Linked DNA regions of Homo sapiens: region 2 is linked to region 1. Evidence: promoter capture Hi-C in human tissues and cell types (Jung and others, 2019). All regions are on one chromosome and are shown on one strand. Each heading gives the region's core, a stretch centred on a gene start or on the middle of the fragment in contact. The rest is flanking DNA. Distances are from core to core; before and after follow the strand shown.

What was found. The method cuts DNA at HindIII sites, captures the fragments that hold promoters and counts their contacts. A contact is called where the count stands out against the background at its distance.
Region 2: a contact is called between a fragment that was not itself captured here and the fragment with the promoter of HSF5 in region 1, in 1 of the 25 tissues and cell types used here (spleen).

What each region holds. Positions count from the first base shown.
Region 1 is chr17:58,483,667-58,490,291 of GRCh38, forward strand. It overlaps HSF5 (heat shock transcription factor 5), which reads right to left and starts at 4,742. Exons shown (of 6, transcript NM_001080439.3): 1 at 4,059-4,742. The coding sequence starts at 4,608. It overlaps MTMR4 (myotubularin related protein 4), which reads right to left. Exons shown (of 18, transcript NM_001378067.1): 18 at 5,871-6,625. RefSeq lists silencers at 4,024-4,143, 4,404-4,453. The HindIII fragment of the contact is 20,222 bases long and covers 1-6,625 here.
Region 2 is chr17:56,862,399-56,869,497 of GRCh38, forward strand. It overlaps DGKE (diacylglycerol kinase epsilon), which reads left to right. Exons shown (of 12, transcript NM_003647.3): 12 at 214-7,099. The coding sequence ends at 393. All of the region lies in intron 1 of LOC124904037 (a long non-coding RNA gene), which reads right to left. Among named protein-coding and RNA genes, the nearest start is that of MIR3614, 25 kb to the right of the region's middle. The HindIII fragment of the contact is 5,394 bases long and covers 2,834-7,099 here.

The sequences.
Region 1 (6,625 bases), core at 3,492-5,991:
TGTTACTTAGTTTAGGATATTTTAACAAATATCGTATAAAATAAACTGCTCCTAAAAACAAAATAACAAAAGCGCACAAAGGAAAAACATGCAATCTGTTTCTTATCAAGTATACTCTTGGAAGGTGAACAGTGCAATTGGTTCAGTGGCTCTAAATAAAAGAACTAGGTCCTAAAACAGAGGATTCTATTATAGAGAGAGAAGTATTCAACCCATACACTGAAATAGAACATAGAAAAAATGGAGACTAAGCAGTAGCAGTGTAGTCAGGCACATAACCAAGGCAAGATTCGAGAAGAAGAAAAATGAGATGAGGAAAAGTAGAAGAGCCAAGGACTTAGAACATGGAATGAGAACAAAACAAAGTTGTATTCTTGAATAACTTTGCTAAATTATTCAAGTTCTAATATTCTTGAACTTAAAGCAGAATTACATTCCACCTGAACCAGTAACACAATTCCCTAGTGAACCAAACCTATGGTATAGACAGTCCACACCTGACATACCTTCTGCACATACCAACAGGTAGAATGGTAAGGAAAAAAAAAAAAAACACCAAACAGGAAAGGCATGAAAACAATAACTTAGTTATATATGGATTGACATATAATCTATACTGAAAAACCATGAATTTATGTTTTTCAACAAACAGTAATCTTTAAATGCTGACCAACTGAAGTATAAGTGAATAAAATCAGATGCCAGATGGCCCTGAATTTCTTCAATTAAAATGGACTCTATCCTTAAAATACAACTGAGTTTAAGATAGTTGAGGGTAAAAGGTCAGAGAAGAGAAAAGAGCAAGTGTTGGTTTTTATGTGTGTGTGTATGCATGGATGTTTCTTTGTTTGAAGTGGTTATCCCATTTCTCCCAAAAACATATTTTCTAGTCTTTTCTCCTTATACCCACCAGACATGCAACCTGAAAAAAAAAAAATCCATGTCAGAGATTCTGCCAAATGTATGCCATGGTATTGTCTCCATTGCCTTGCCCCCTATCATTCCCTACCAAAATCAATGGCCATCACATGGAAGTGGCCTAATATTCCTTTAGGACATTCTTATGCCACTGCTGCTTTTTCAACTTACTGTTGGAACTTTAACCTAATCCCTTATCTTCTAAACTCCACAGTGGTCACATAACCTAGTTCCTTATCTTCTAAATTCCAAATGAACCAAGTACTGTTGTCATTCATAACCCTGGGCGAAGGTTAAGTTGAACATAGTGTTATTTTATTTGTACATTTAAACTTTTCCATTAACTCAAAAATAACCCAGATTTTTTTTTTTTTTTTTTTTTTTTTTTGAGACAGCGTCTCACTCTGTCGCCCAGGCTGGAGTGCAATGGTGTGATCTCGGCTCACTGCAACCTCCACCTCCCAGGTTCAAGTGATGCTCCTGCCTCAGCCTCCCGAGTAGCTGGGACTACAGGCACCCGCCACCACGCCCAGCTAATTTTTATATTTTTAATAGAGACAGGGTTTCACCATGTTGGCCAGGATGGTCTCGATCTCTTGACCTTGTGATCCGCCTGCCTGGGCCTCCCAAAGTGCTGGGATTACAGGCGTGAGCCACCACGCCCGGCCCCAGATTTCTTTATAGTAAATCCATGTTAACATGCTGAAAATGTTTTTATTTACTCTCCTAGCTGAAGGTGAAGAATGAATGAATGATTACACCCTGTTGGTTTCTTGGTATACTGCTTCATATCATGGACTCTTTAAACAGAGAAATGGAATATTGCCACCCTTGCCTTCCTGGAAGAGGGGGAAGAGCATCAAAAATCAAGTCTACAGGCCTGGCGCAGTGGTGGCTCACGCCTGTAATCCCAGCACTTCCAGAGGCCAAGGTGGGCAGATCACTTGAGCCCAGGAGTTCCAGACCAGCCTGGGCAACAGAGTGAAACCCTGTATCCACCAAAAATACAAAAAATTAGCTGGGTGTGGTGGCCACGCCTGTAGTCCCAGCTACTCGGGAGGCTGAGGTGGGAGGATCCCTTGAGCCCGGGAGGTGGAGGTTGCAGTGAGCCAAGATCTTGCCACTGCACTCCAGCCTGGGGGACAGAGTGAAACCCTATCTCAAAAAAAAAAAAAAAAAATCAAGTCTATAAAATAATTTGGCCATGTGAAGTGGCTCACACCTGTAATCCCAGCACATTGGGAGGCCAAGATGGGCGGATCACCTGAGGTCAGGAGTTCAAAACCAGCCTGGCCAACATGGTGAAACCCCATCTCTACTAACAATACAAAAATTAGCGAGGTGTGGTGGCAGGCACCTGTAAAATCCTAGCTACTCTGGAGGCTGAGGCAGAAGAATCACTTGAACCCGGGAGGCAGAGGTTGCAGTGAGCGGAGATCTTGCCATTGCACGCCAGCCTGGGCAACACAGTGAGACTTAATCTCAAAAAGTAAAATAGGCAGGGCGCAGTGGCTCAGGCCTGTAATCCCAGCACTTTGGGAGGCCAAGGCTGGCGGATCACCTGAGGTCAGGAGTTCGAGACCAGCCTGGCCAACCTGGTGAAACCTCGTCTCTACTAAAAAATATAAAAATTAGCCGGGCATGGTGGCACGCGCCTGTATTCCCAGCTACTCAGGAGGCTAAGGAATGAGAATTGCTTGAACCCGAGAGGCGGAGGTTGTGGTGAGCCGAGATCGCGCCATTGCACTCCAGCCTGGGTGACAAGAGCGAAACTCCGTCTCAAAAAAATAAACAAATAATAAAAAATAAATAATCCACTATCACAGAGGGTTTCTTAACTTTTACTAAATACAGATGTATACCAAAAAGTTTTTTCAATACTGAAAGATTGTAGCCAATAGTGAAAACTCCAAAGGCTGTAAATGTGAGCTTTCTAAAATTCTTTTTTAACTAAAACTTGACAGCTGTAAAGAAAACCATCTTTGCCTTATGTTTGTCTAATCATACCCCTTTAAGGAAGCATCAAGCTCTAATTTGCTTCAATGAAAGAAATGTGTAGCCAATTCATTCTACATAGGAACTATATCTTGTAAGCCACGATGTATCGTTGTATTTTTGCTCTTAAGGTATATAAACAACGTCTACCATTCTACACATTAACCAGAACCTTAAATCTGATGATTGTCGTAGCACTTCTAAGATTTCTTAGATGTGCCAATAGGTGGAAGGTGGCAGCCCTCTTCAAGGACAAATTTCCACTGCAGGCACCTTTTCCAAAACTTTCCCTTGCCTGCTATTGTAATGTTCTAAGTTCTCTCTTTTTTTTTTTTTTTTTTTTTTTGAGACCGAGTCTCGCTCTGTTGCTCAGACTGGAGTGCAGTGGCACTATCTCGGCTTACTGCAACCTCTGCCTCCTGGGTTCAAGCGATTCTCCTGCCTCAGTCTCCTAAGTAGCTGGGATTACAGGCGTGCACCACCATGCCTGGCTAATTTTTGTATTTTTAGTAGAGACGAGGTTTCACCCTGTTGGTTAGGCCGGTCTCAAACTCCTAACCTCGTGATGCACCCGCCTCGGCCTCCCAAAGTGCTGGGATTACAGGCGTGAGCCACCACGCCCAACCGTAATGTTCTAAATTCTCTTGACTACGATTTTGTTCCATCCCGCCTTAACCCGTAGGGTGACTCCACTCTGCTTCCCACGGGAGCAAAGGAGCCCCTTTTGTTTCTTCCAGACCCAATGTTTCAACGAAGGACTACTGAGTCCACATGTTTACAGTGGACAGTGTGGGTCTCAGGAAGGTAAACGGAGGCTTACAACCAGGTAAACTCCTGGGGTTCAAACCGGGGACGAGTAGAAGGGAGCCTAAGAGGCGGAGGTCCCTTTTGCTGCCAGTGGGCTCAGAAGGGGCCGAATGCTTACGGACCCTCCAGGGGAGGGCCGGTGGCCACCGTGCTGGTGCCGCTGAGAACGGCGGCGGTGGCGGGACCGCCAGTCTCGGGAAGCACAGCGGCCAATGGGTCCCCGGCGCCTTTCCGACGCCCATAGCGTGAGGACGTGCGAAAATGCGCCCTCCAGCGGCGGTTGCTCCCCGCCGCCCATGTGCCCACTGTGGGCGAGGGCACGGGCAGTCCGGACTCACCGTGCGGCTCGGGCCGGGGCCCCGCGGGCGGCGGCGGCTGCTGGTGCTGCAGTGGCGCGGTGGCGGCGGAGGCCGAGGTGATGAGCAGCCGCTGGAAGCGGTTGGGCGGGCGGCAGGGCACCTCCAGGCCGGCCGCCAGCTTGGCCTTGTTGGCGCTGGTGAGGCGCTTGAGGTGCACGAGCAGCTGTGGCTGGTCGCGGCGGAAGTGCGGGTTGTGGAAGTGATGGAGCGGCCCATTGCCTGCCGGTTTGCCGCCCCCCGGCCCGCCCAGCACCACCTTGCGGAAGCCGTAGAGGTTGAGCTGGCGGATGAAGCTGGTGAAGCTGGTGGTTTTGAAGAGCTCGGGCTCGGCCCCGGCCCCCGCAGTCCCGCCACCGCCCCCCGGCCCGGGCGGGCTGAGCAGCTCGGCCTCGAAGAGCGGCTGATCGATAAGCAGCCCCTCGCCGCGGCCGTCCCAGCGGATGGAGCGGTAGCGCGGGCTGTTCACCAGGCGCCACAGCTTGGCGGGGAAGTTGTTGGGGTTGATGGGGGTGGAGAGCAGCGCCTCCATCGCCCCGCCGGGCCGGGGCCTCGCCCCCCGAGCCTAGCTCTCCCACACCGTTCTCGATCCCTCCCCGGCCTTCGCCTCGCCCTGCCCGCTCCTGCCGGCGCCCATCCGCCGCGTACCAGGGACCGTTGGCGCACGAGGCCCCGCGGCGCCTCCCAGCGCGGCCAATGGGGCCTCGAGTTCCCGCCACGCGGCGTGGGCACCTCCCCCTCGGCGGCCGCGTGCCCCAGCTCGGCCCGCCGGACGCCTGCGGGACCCGGGCAGGAGCCCCTTCCCCAGGCGTTCCCAGACTTCAGGCCGGGAAGGCTGTCTGCCGGGGTGTTCTAAGTCCTGACAAGAGAGAAGCCCAGTTATCCACCGTGGAATACCAAGAGGCGTGTGTTTCGGCCCAGCCAACTAGTGGAGACTTGGAATGCAGAGAAAGTGTGCGTTAGGCAGCAGAGTTGGTCGTTCTGGGGACCAAAGGGTCTGGTCTGTAATCTTTGCTAACAGTGGAACTGCTTACCTCTCAAACAAAAATGATGCTACTGGAGGTATAATATCTTGAGTAAACGAACTCACCTTTTAGATAGTAGCCCTTTGTATCTTTTAAGATACACTCTTTTAAGTCAGTATTTGTTCAAGACAATTTACTCAAGGTTAGATGAAAACTGAGGTCCCTAGGAGGAGGGAATCACAAGAATCTAAGTACTATCTTGTGTGCCTGCCCAACTAGCTGGTGGCATTTTAGACATTAAAGAGAAATAAAGATGGGACAGAATTCTACGGTATCCATAAGAATCGATCCCTAGCCAATCAATAAATAAGAATGTAACAAGAGCTGTGCTGATTCAAAAAGAGAGGTTCATTTGAAAACGGAAATTGGCCGGGCGCAGTGGCTCATGTCTGTAATCCTAACACTTCGGGAGGCCGAGCTGGGTGGACTGCTTGAACCCAGGAGTTCGAGACCAGCCTGGCCAACATGGTCAAACCCTGTCTCTACTAAAAATACAAAAATTAGCCAGCGTGGTAGCATACCTGTAGTCCCAACTGTTCAGGAGGCTGAGGCAGGAGAATCGCTTGAACCCAGAAGGCGGAGGTTGCAGTGAGCCGAGATCGCACCACTGCACTCCAGCCTGGGGAACAGAGGGAGACTCCATCTCAAAATAAATAAATTGGAAATTGCTGGGAGAAAGGGGTACAATGTTCTACTCTTCTCATGGTCAAAGAATAAGTGAATATTAAGTTTTTTTAGAAATGAAAATAAAACGACCCAACAAAGCAGCACTAATATAGAGATTTTATTTAAACTGTATTGAATTTTTACAGCACATTGCATGTTTGTCACAACGCAACTGCACAGTTTGGATTTTTGGCCACATCATGTCACTTACACCCACAACAGCTCTGAAAGGAGTATTTGATGAACACATCTGAGCCAAGAGCCCAGAGTCTCTCTCCAAGGCCATGCAGTTTGTTCACTGATGGGACAGTCCCTCAAAACAGCCACGCTAAGTAGACAGATACAGTCTCCCCAAATGTTACCAATCTTACTCCCCTTGAAAACAGGCAGAGTGAAGTGCAATGAAAGACAAGTTAATTAAAAAGCCACTCACAACTGGCAGTAAATTTTAATGATTGATAAAATGCTTAAAATAATTTTATGTATCAGAAACAAGGAACAGCTTGTTACTTTTTCAATGATCTCAGGAATTTTGCAGACACAAAATCTCCATTATTCAGCTCCATTTAAATGAAAAAAAAAGTTCCGCTAGGCTGACCTAAATATGCCAAAACTTTTTAGGTTACATCTATGGCAAGTACAAAAGAACCACAGATGCGTCTCTGTAGGACTGAAAAGGTCAGGACAAATAATGATTCTTGTTCTAAATGCAGATCCTAGTTATTTTGGAATGAAATGCTGTTTTCTAGAAAGCAACATGAAAGTAGCAGTAAGAAAGATGACTACCATCATTTCAAAACAGGATAAGCCTAAATATAATTTACCATTTATATGTCAACAAATTAAGGAAAACTGTAT
Region 2 (7,099 bases), core at 4,281-6,780, 1.6 Mb before region 1:
GAGGAAGAAACAGAAACATGGCTCAAGATCCATGAGATAAAACGTTCACTTGAAAAAAGAATTCCTTAATCAATGAATAAAAACATATTCAGATTAATATTTTCTAAAAATGAAATGCATAAGGGTTAAGGGATTGTGGATGGTATTATTAAGGAAGACCTTTCTAAATTTGGGGGGACTGACTTTTAAACATTATTTGTTCCCTAATATCAGCTGATTTTGAAGTGCTCCATGATGCCAATGCAGGTGGATGGGGAGCCTTGGGCCCAAGGGCCCTGCACTGTCACCATAACTCACAAGACACATGCAATGATGTTATATTTCTCTGGAGAACAAACAGATGATGACATCTCTAGTACTTCGGATCAAGAAGATATAAAGGCGACTGAATAGATGGATGAGGGAGTGAAAACTTTGCATAGAATCCTCACGCAAGTAGATACATGTTCATCCAAAAGTATTAATAGAAATTCTCTATCAGCTATTCAGTCTTAATTTCACTAGTAGTATAATGGGTATACATTTTTGTAAATAGCATCCCCAAACCAGCCAGCCTTCAGTTATTTACAAATGTTTGTTCTTTTTTCAGCAAAATACTTCAAATGAATAGTATTAACTTACAAAAAGTCACAAAAACTTACATGAGAGTGAAAATTTGTTATGACTGTTTTGAGAGTGGGACTCACTCTGAAGTATGTGCTGTCTCATGTCTTATTTTTGAACCATGCATATGATGGACACACAATGGATGGACACATTATATCTCCAACAAGGTGTGGGTGGAAAGATCAAATTAACCTGCTTTTTTGAAAGGAAATGATTACTGTCAAACCAGCATGGTTAATTGTGAGCATCCTCCTGCAGCATGCCCCTTAAGATTTTCTACAACCCAAACCAAGTGTATGTATTGATTTCTAGGAACCCCCAAAAGGAGAATAGTAAAAAAAGATCATACTTAAAATTTGTATTACAATTTTTATTTTAGGAACTTATTCAGACACGTAAATGTTGTTTAATTCTGTAGGTAACCATTTGAGCTGCAATTCAGGATCTTTTTTATAACACCAGTGTAGCCAAAAGAGAAACAGATAAGTGAATTGGTAAGAAATAAGATTCAGAGCACTTGGGATTGTAAGTTATAGGTTCTGAGCTGAACTGTTTATCAGCCGCTCTTTTTATTAAAAGACAGTGTCAACACTTCAAAAAACGTGCTTAAAGGAGACAACGGTGAGATTAATTGCTTAGAAAAAGCTCAAGGCTGACTGATAAGTTTTAAAAATTTGGTGGTCTTGTAGTATTTTGAAATACAGTAGTCTTTTAACAGAATTTCCCCTTAGGGAGGTAAGTGGACAGAAATCTTTGCTAAAATGTTTATATCATATTTATTTTAAAATGAGAGAGATATATTTTTAAATTATTTATTATTTACCTTGTGGTATGGTACCTGTGTTTAGTGTTTACGTTCTGTAGCTTTATTTAATAAGTTAAATTGATCACATAAATTCTGCTAGTCACAATCAGATAGAAATTTAGTCTATTAATTAAAATTCTAATTTAATTCTCCTGACAGAAATCTAGATATTCTTATTCTTCACAAATATTCCTCATTGTATTGAAAAATGAAGGAGGGCATGAAAAGCACTAGGGAACTACTTTTGGATAACTGAAAGCTTTGTTTCATTGTTTTATTTGCCCCTCAATTGCCACAAACTTACTGAAGGGCTAGTTTCATGGTTCCCATTAGAGGGTGCTTGTTCGCTGCTGTTGACCAGCCCAAGGGTCGTGACCCACAGGTCGGCTGACCCAGAGGGCATCCAGCCTGGTGTTTTTCTGACACATGGCCCAGGCTTTGTGGTCTTTCATGACATTAATCTCTGAAAGATCAGAATGTATCCCCCAAAATACCATTAGCTATCTTTGAGGGTCTATTATGAATCTGTCATCCATGAATTGCCATAAACCTAAGTTTGCCTCACCTCAGGCCCAGACCATGTTTTCAAAGAGCAACTTAGTAATGTATACAGTAGTCAGTACATTTTATGAAATACTCTATTTTGCTAAATTAACCTCTTGCAGATCTCCTCAGGTGATCTTAAATTCTAGTCTTGAGAAACTTTGTGAGCAGATCTGTTTTCAGCTTCTTTATATACCTTTCATGGTAAGTAACCATGGCAGTGAGGATGGCAGAGTTTTGTTTTTTTTTTTTTTAATGGGCCAATCATGTTCTGAGTATTATGAAGTTTATCCTTTCATTCATGATCAAAATTGTTAAAGACATCACATTTTATAAATACACTGTTAAATCCACTTTGCTGTAGGTTATAGTTTACCTGTTATATAATTCGTAGTGCTAATTGTAGTAGAAGCAAATCAATTTAGGATGTTGGAACGAAAATAATCACAATAACTAATACAGCTTTTTAATTGTGAAAACTACAATTAAAAATTATAATTTTAATACCAACCATAATATTACACTGTATTTAGAACAGGCTTATGTAAAATGCCCTCATTTATCTAAATAAGTTGATTTTTTGGTTATTGTAATCTAGTAAGGTTTTTGCATCACTACTGGTCTGTCATGAAGTTTTTCTGCTGGCTTATTCACTTATTTAGACTTCATTTAGGGAAGCTATTTCAGAATACCATCTCATAAAATGTATCATTATCTTGTTTTTGCAAAATTCACTTACTTTTTGGGCACATTTACCCAGCATTTCAAATAAGTGTATAGGCATGTGCCTTGTTTAAGTACAATTTATAAGACTTCATGTTTGCAAGTTACATATTAGGGTAGTGATTGTTTATATTACCAGGGATTCTACACTTTACCAAAAAAAATTGCCATAAGATTTTCCTGTTCCATTTTAAATTGTCTTGATATTTAAAAAAATAACTTCTACATTCTCAGGAAGAAATACATGAAGTAAATCATATCTCCATGTCTGTTTCCAGATTTCTCTAATCTTTTTACTATCCCAATACATTCCTAATTCCTATAAACGTAGTGGCTTAAATACTGAATACCTGGCAGCTCTTAAAGATCCCTTAGGCAGATGATGATAATTTTCAGTGTTTCGTCATGTTTAATAGAAATCAAACTGACTTGTGTTTTAAAATACAAGTTGTCTGCTAGTAAAGTTACATGATTTAGGTGTGTTTTAGGTTTTCTGCAACAATTAGCTGTGAACCCCTAATGTAGCTAAGTTTATACAAATTTTATAATCAAAATTATTTATTTTTATTTTTTTAGAGTATGTCAAAAACATATAGTGTTTGCTTTGTGAAATACATTTGCTTAGAGTTATAAAATATACTGTGACTCAGAAATTGTAAAGTCAGTTTGCGTTGTAAAAATGAATACTACCAGCATGTCAAAAGAAAAATAATTTACATTTGTAATATAAAGTAAAATTGTATTTAATATATTTATTGAATTTTAAATTTGCACTAACTTGAAAACTTTAAAGGTTATACTAATTTAATGATTAATGTGGACCCAAATACATAATTTGGCCAAAAAAGTCATTAGAATGGGTAATGGTTTTGTGTGGTTTTCCTTCAAAATGATAATATTGAAGCAAGAACCAGCATTTTATATTGATAATTTTTTTAATATTTCTACCCAGTTGAGGACAGTGGAATATAAGTAGATATATTTAAAATATCTAGATATTTAAAAAGAAAGAAAAGGTTGTTTATCCCAATCTGAATTCATTCTCAGCAACAAGACAGAAAAGGTGGTTTGGGTTTTGCTTTTAAACAGTGTCCCCCTGTCTTTTTCAATTTTTCCCTTGAAGCCTTTCTCTTGTTCTTCAGAGTACGCGCTGCAGGCTATCTGCAGCATCAGAATGCCTGGGCAGGCTGTTGAAAGTATGGATTCCTGAGCCCAACCCTTAACTTAATGATTCCCTGTCTCTGGAGATGCAACATAGAAATCTCTGTTTTTATTAACAAGCGCCTCAGGCGATTCTTAAGCATACTGAAATTTGAAAGCTTCTGGTCTGAACCTCATGTATTCACCTAGGGCTTTTGCTAGGTGGGATACCATGCCGAAAAATTGAATTAATTGTATGTTCTTAAAATTGTTTTTCTTCTACTCCGCTGTCCTCTTCCCTCAAAATCACTTTTCTAAAAGAACTCTATGAAAAACTTATTTGTATCATACCCAAATTGATATATTTGTCTGAACTCTGTTACATAAAAATTGGTATGATTCATATGTGGAATCAGTTTTTGGACTGTGACCCATGCAGTGTTGGGGGACAAGGAGTTGCTTCAGGAGTTAGTGCAGTGCGCCTCCAAGGGGCAGTGAGCCATGGAGGCGCCTGCCTTCTCACTGCAGTCAATGCAGCCACACTTGTGTATACTGAGTGCTGCTTCAGATCTCAGTAGATAAAATAATTCCACATTTAAAATGATTCTGCTATTTTTTATAAAGGGTTTGAAAGCCACTACTATAATGACTTTGTCACCTAATTGATTTTCTACTAATTTTTACATATTCAGAAACTTCGTGTTTTTTTGGTGGACAGAATATTTTGGAGGTCTCCGTCGCTGTTTAGAATGTGGCCACTTGGCTGTTTCACAGTTTTTAAAGCTATTTTATTGAATAGTAAAGCAGTGAACTTAGCCTTTGTTCTTTGTGTTTCTAATTTAAGCATATAGTCTATTTAATTTTTGATATGTAAATACACATCAATACATATATATTTACCCATGTGGCCCTGTGTAGTCAGTGCATGAGGCTTGCATAGCCCAGAAAGGTACATTCCAGGGTTCTGGGGAAAGAATTTTAAAATGCCATCCTCTAATACAGACGTTTATAAAACTTAAATGAAATGATTGGGCTTAACCATATGCAAGAAAGTCTGCAGAAAATAAATCACCTAGAAACTATAAATAGAAATGTGCTGCTGAGGCTGGGCACGGTGGCTCACACCTGTAATCCCAGCACTTGGGGGGCTAAGGGAGGCGTATCACCTGAGGTCAGGAGTTTGAGACAAGCCTGGTCAACATGGTGAAACGCCGTCTCTACTAAAAATACAAAAAAAATTAGCCAGGTACATTGGCACATGCCTTTAATCCCAGCTAATCAGGAGGCTGAGGCACGAGAATTGCTCGAACCCAGGCGGCAGAGCTTGCAGTGAGCGGAGATCACATGACTGCACTCCAGCCTGGGCAACAGAGCAAGACTCCATCTCAAAAAAAAAAAGGCCGGGCGTGGTGGCTCACGCCTGTAATCCCAGCACTTTGGGAGGCTGAGGCAGGTGGATCACGAGGTCAGGAGATCGAGACTATCCTGGCTAACACGGTGACACCCCGCCTCTACTAAAAATCCAAAAATTTAGCCGGGCATGGTGGCGGGCACCTGTAGTCCCAGCTACTCGGGAGGCTGAGGCAGGAGAATGGCGTGAACCCGGGAGGCAGAGCTTGCAGGGAGGCGGAGCTTGCAGCGAGCCGAGATAGTGCCACTGCAGTGGGGCCTGGGCCAAAGAGTGAGACTCCATCTCAAAAAAAAAAAAAAAGAAAGAAATGTGTTGCTGGTATCAGATATCAGACCAAGAACACTTCAGTCTCTCTAAGGATGCCCTGAGCTACCTCACTGTTAAAGGACGACATCAACACAGAATGCACTAAACAGGAAATAAGCTGTAATCTAGAGAATTTCCATTATGTGTTACTTTTTGGTGACTAACATGGAATGTTGAAAAGGAAGAGCTGGAAAGCTCAGTTGTTTTCCTTGTTCCTCTGACATTGTCCAGGCAAGAGGGCATCCTGATCAGATGAGTAGATTTGGCTGAGAAAAACCCTAGAGTAAGGCAGGCACTTTGTGGAGGTGGATGATGATGGCTCATAAAAACGTTTGTTCTCAGTCCAGTTCAGGGCTCTGCCAGCAGTCTTTCAGATCTGAACTGCTTAAACAAACCCTACAGATAAATTGGCACTCTGATTTGTAATTCTGTTTGTACAAGTTTAGAGCAGCCTAGCTCGAGTCCTCAACCCCAGTCCTCTTAGAAGTGAACTGATTGCACTGGATCCCTAAACCCACAATGTTGAGGACACATGTGATGACTCCACTTGCTCAGCCAGCTGGCCTCTTGCACTTTCCCCTGCCCACCACTTGTAACTACCACTTAATTATCTTGTGTTAATTGCTTTTGTTGTGTTGGGTCTGTATTTTTGTGGTCAGTGCCTGCAGGCAGAAATGTGAAAGCATTTGGTATGTTGAAGATACTTGCTTCTTTTTTAATAAAATTAAAAGTGCAGCACGTAAGTATGATACTGTGTAGTTTTTTGACACAACCATGAGATACAATAAGCAGCTTTGACTTAGTGTCCCAAAAAGTGGTTCTTGGTCTACAGCAGGGCAAACATATATGTGGCAAGTTCTGATCACATACTTTTAGACAGAAAGAATAAAAAATTCATATTGCATGGCTTTTGTAGCCTAAGAGCACAGAATCATACACGTGTGTTAGGAGAAACATTCATTCTCACGCATATAAACTGGCTCCTGGCAGAGTAGAGCAGTAAGTGGGATCAAAGGTGAATTCACCTTATTTTCAGTTGGTAGAGTATGGAAAAATGTATCACTTATTTGAAATACCTGAATGGAAACCCAGCCTCTACTACTGTAACTTAACACTTGTTCTTCCTGAGCCTCAAATTTTCTTTCTCTGTAAGAATGGGAATTAATGCCCACCTACGGGTTGCAAGTGCTTACAGGAGCTGGGCAAGCAACGAAGGTAAGAGTTGTAGAGACTTCGGTAAACTGGAGCACATGATTCCTGGGAAGCAGGCCTAGTGTAAACAATTTATTTTTCTAGAAAAGACAGAAGTTTAGAGTATATGAAATCTAATTTTTAAGTATTGGTTGGCAACTAATTGACTATCGTCTACCATAAGGTTATATGATAATTATTAGGGCAGGAGAGTGAATGCATCTTAATATGCATGGCAGAACTGTGTGTTTCCTTCCATCTGGATTTTCATAAAGCTTTCTGATTTATCAGTAACGATCTGAAAAATGTACTGTGGCATGTAACATCTTTTATTCATTTTATTAGGCATTAGAGGAAGAATATTCTGTAGTCCT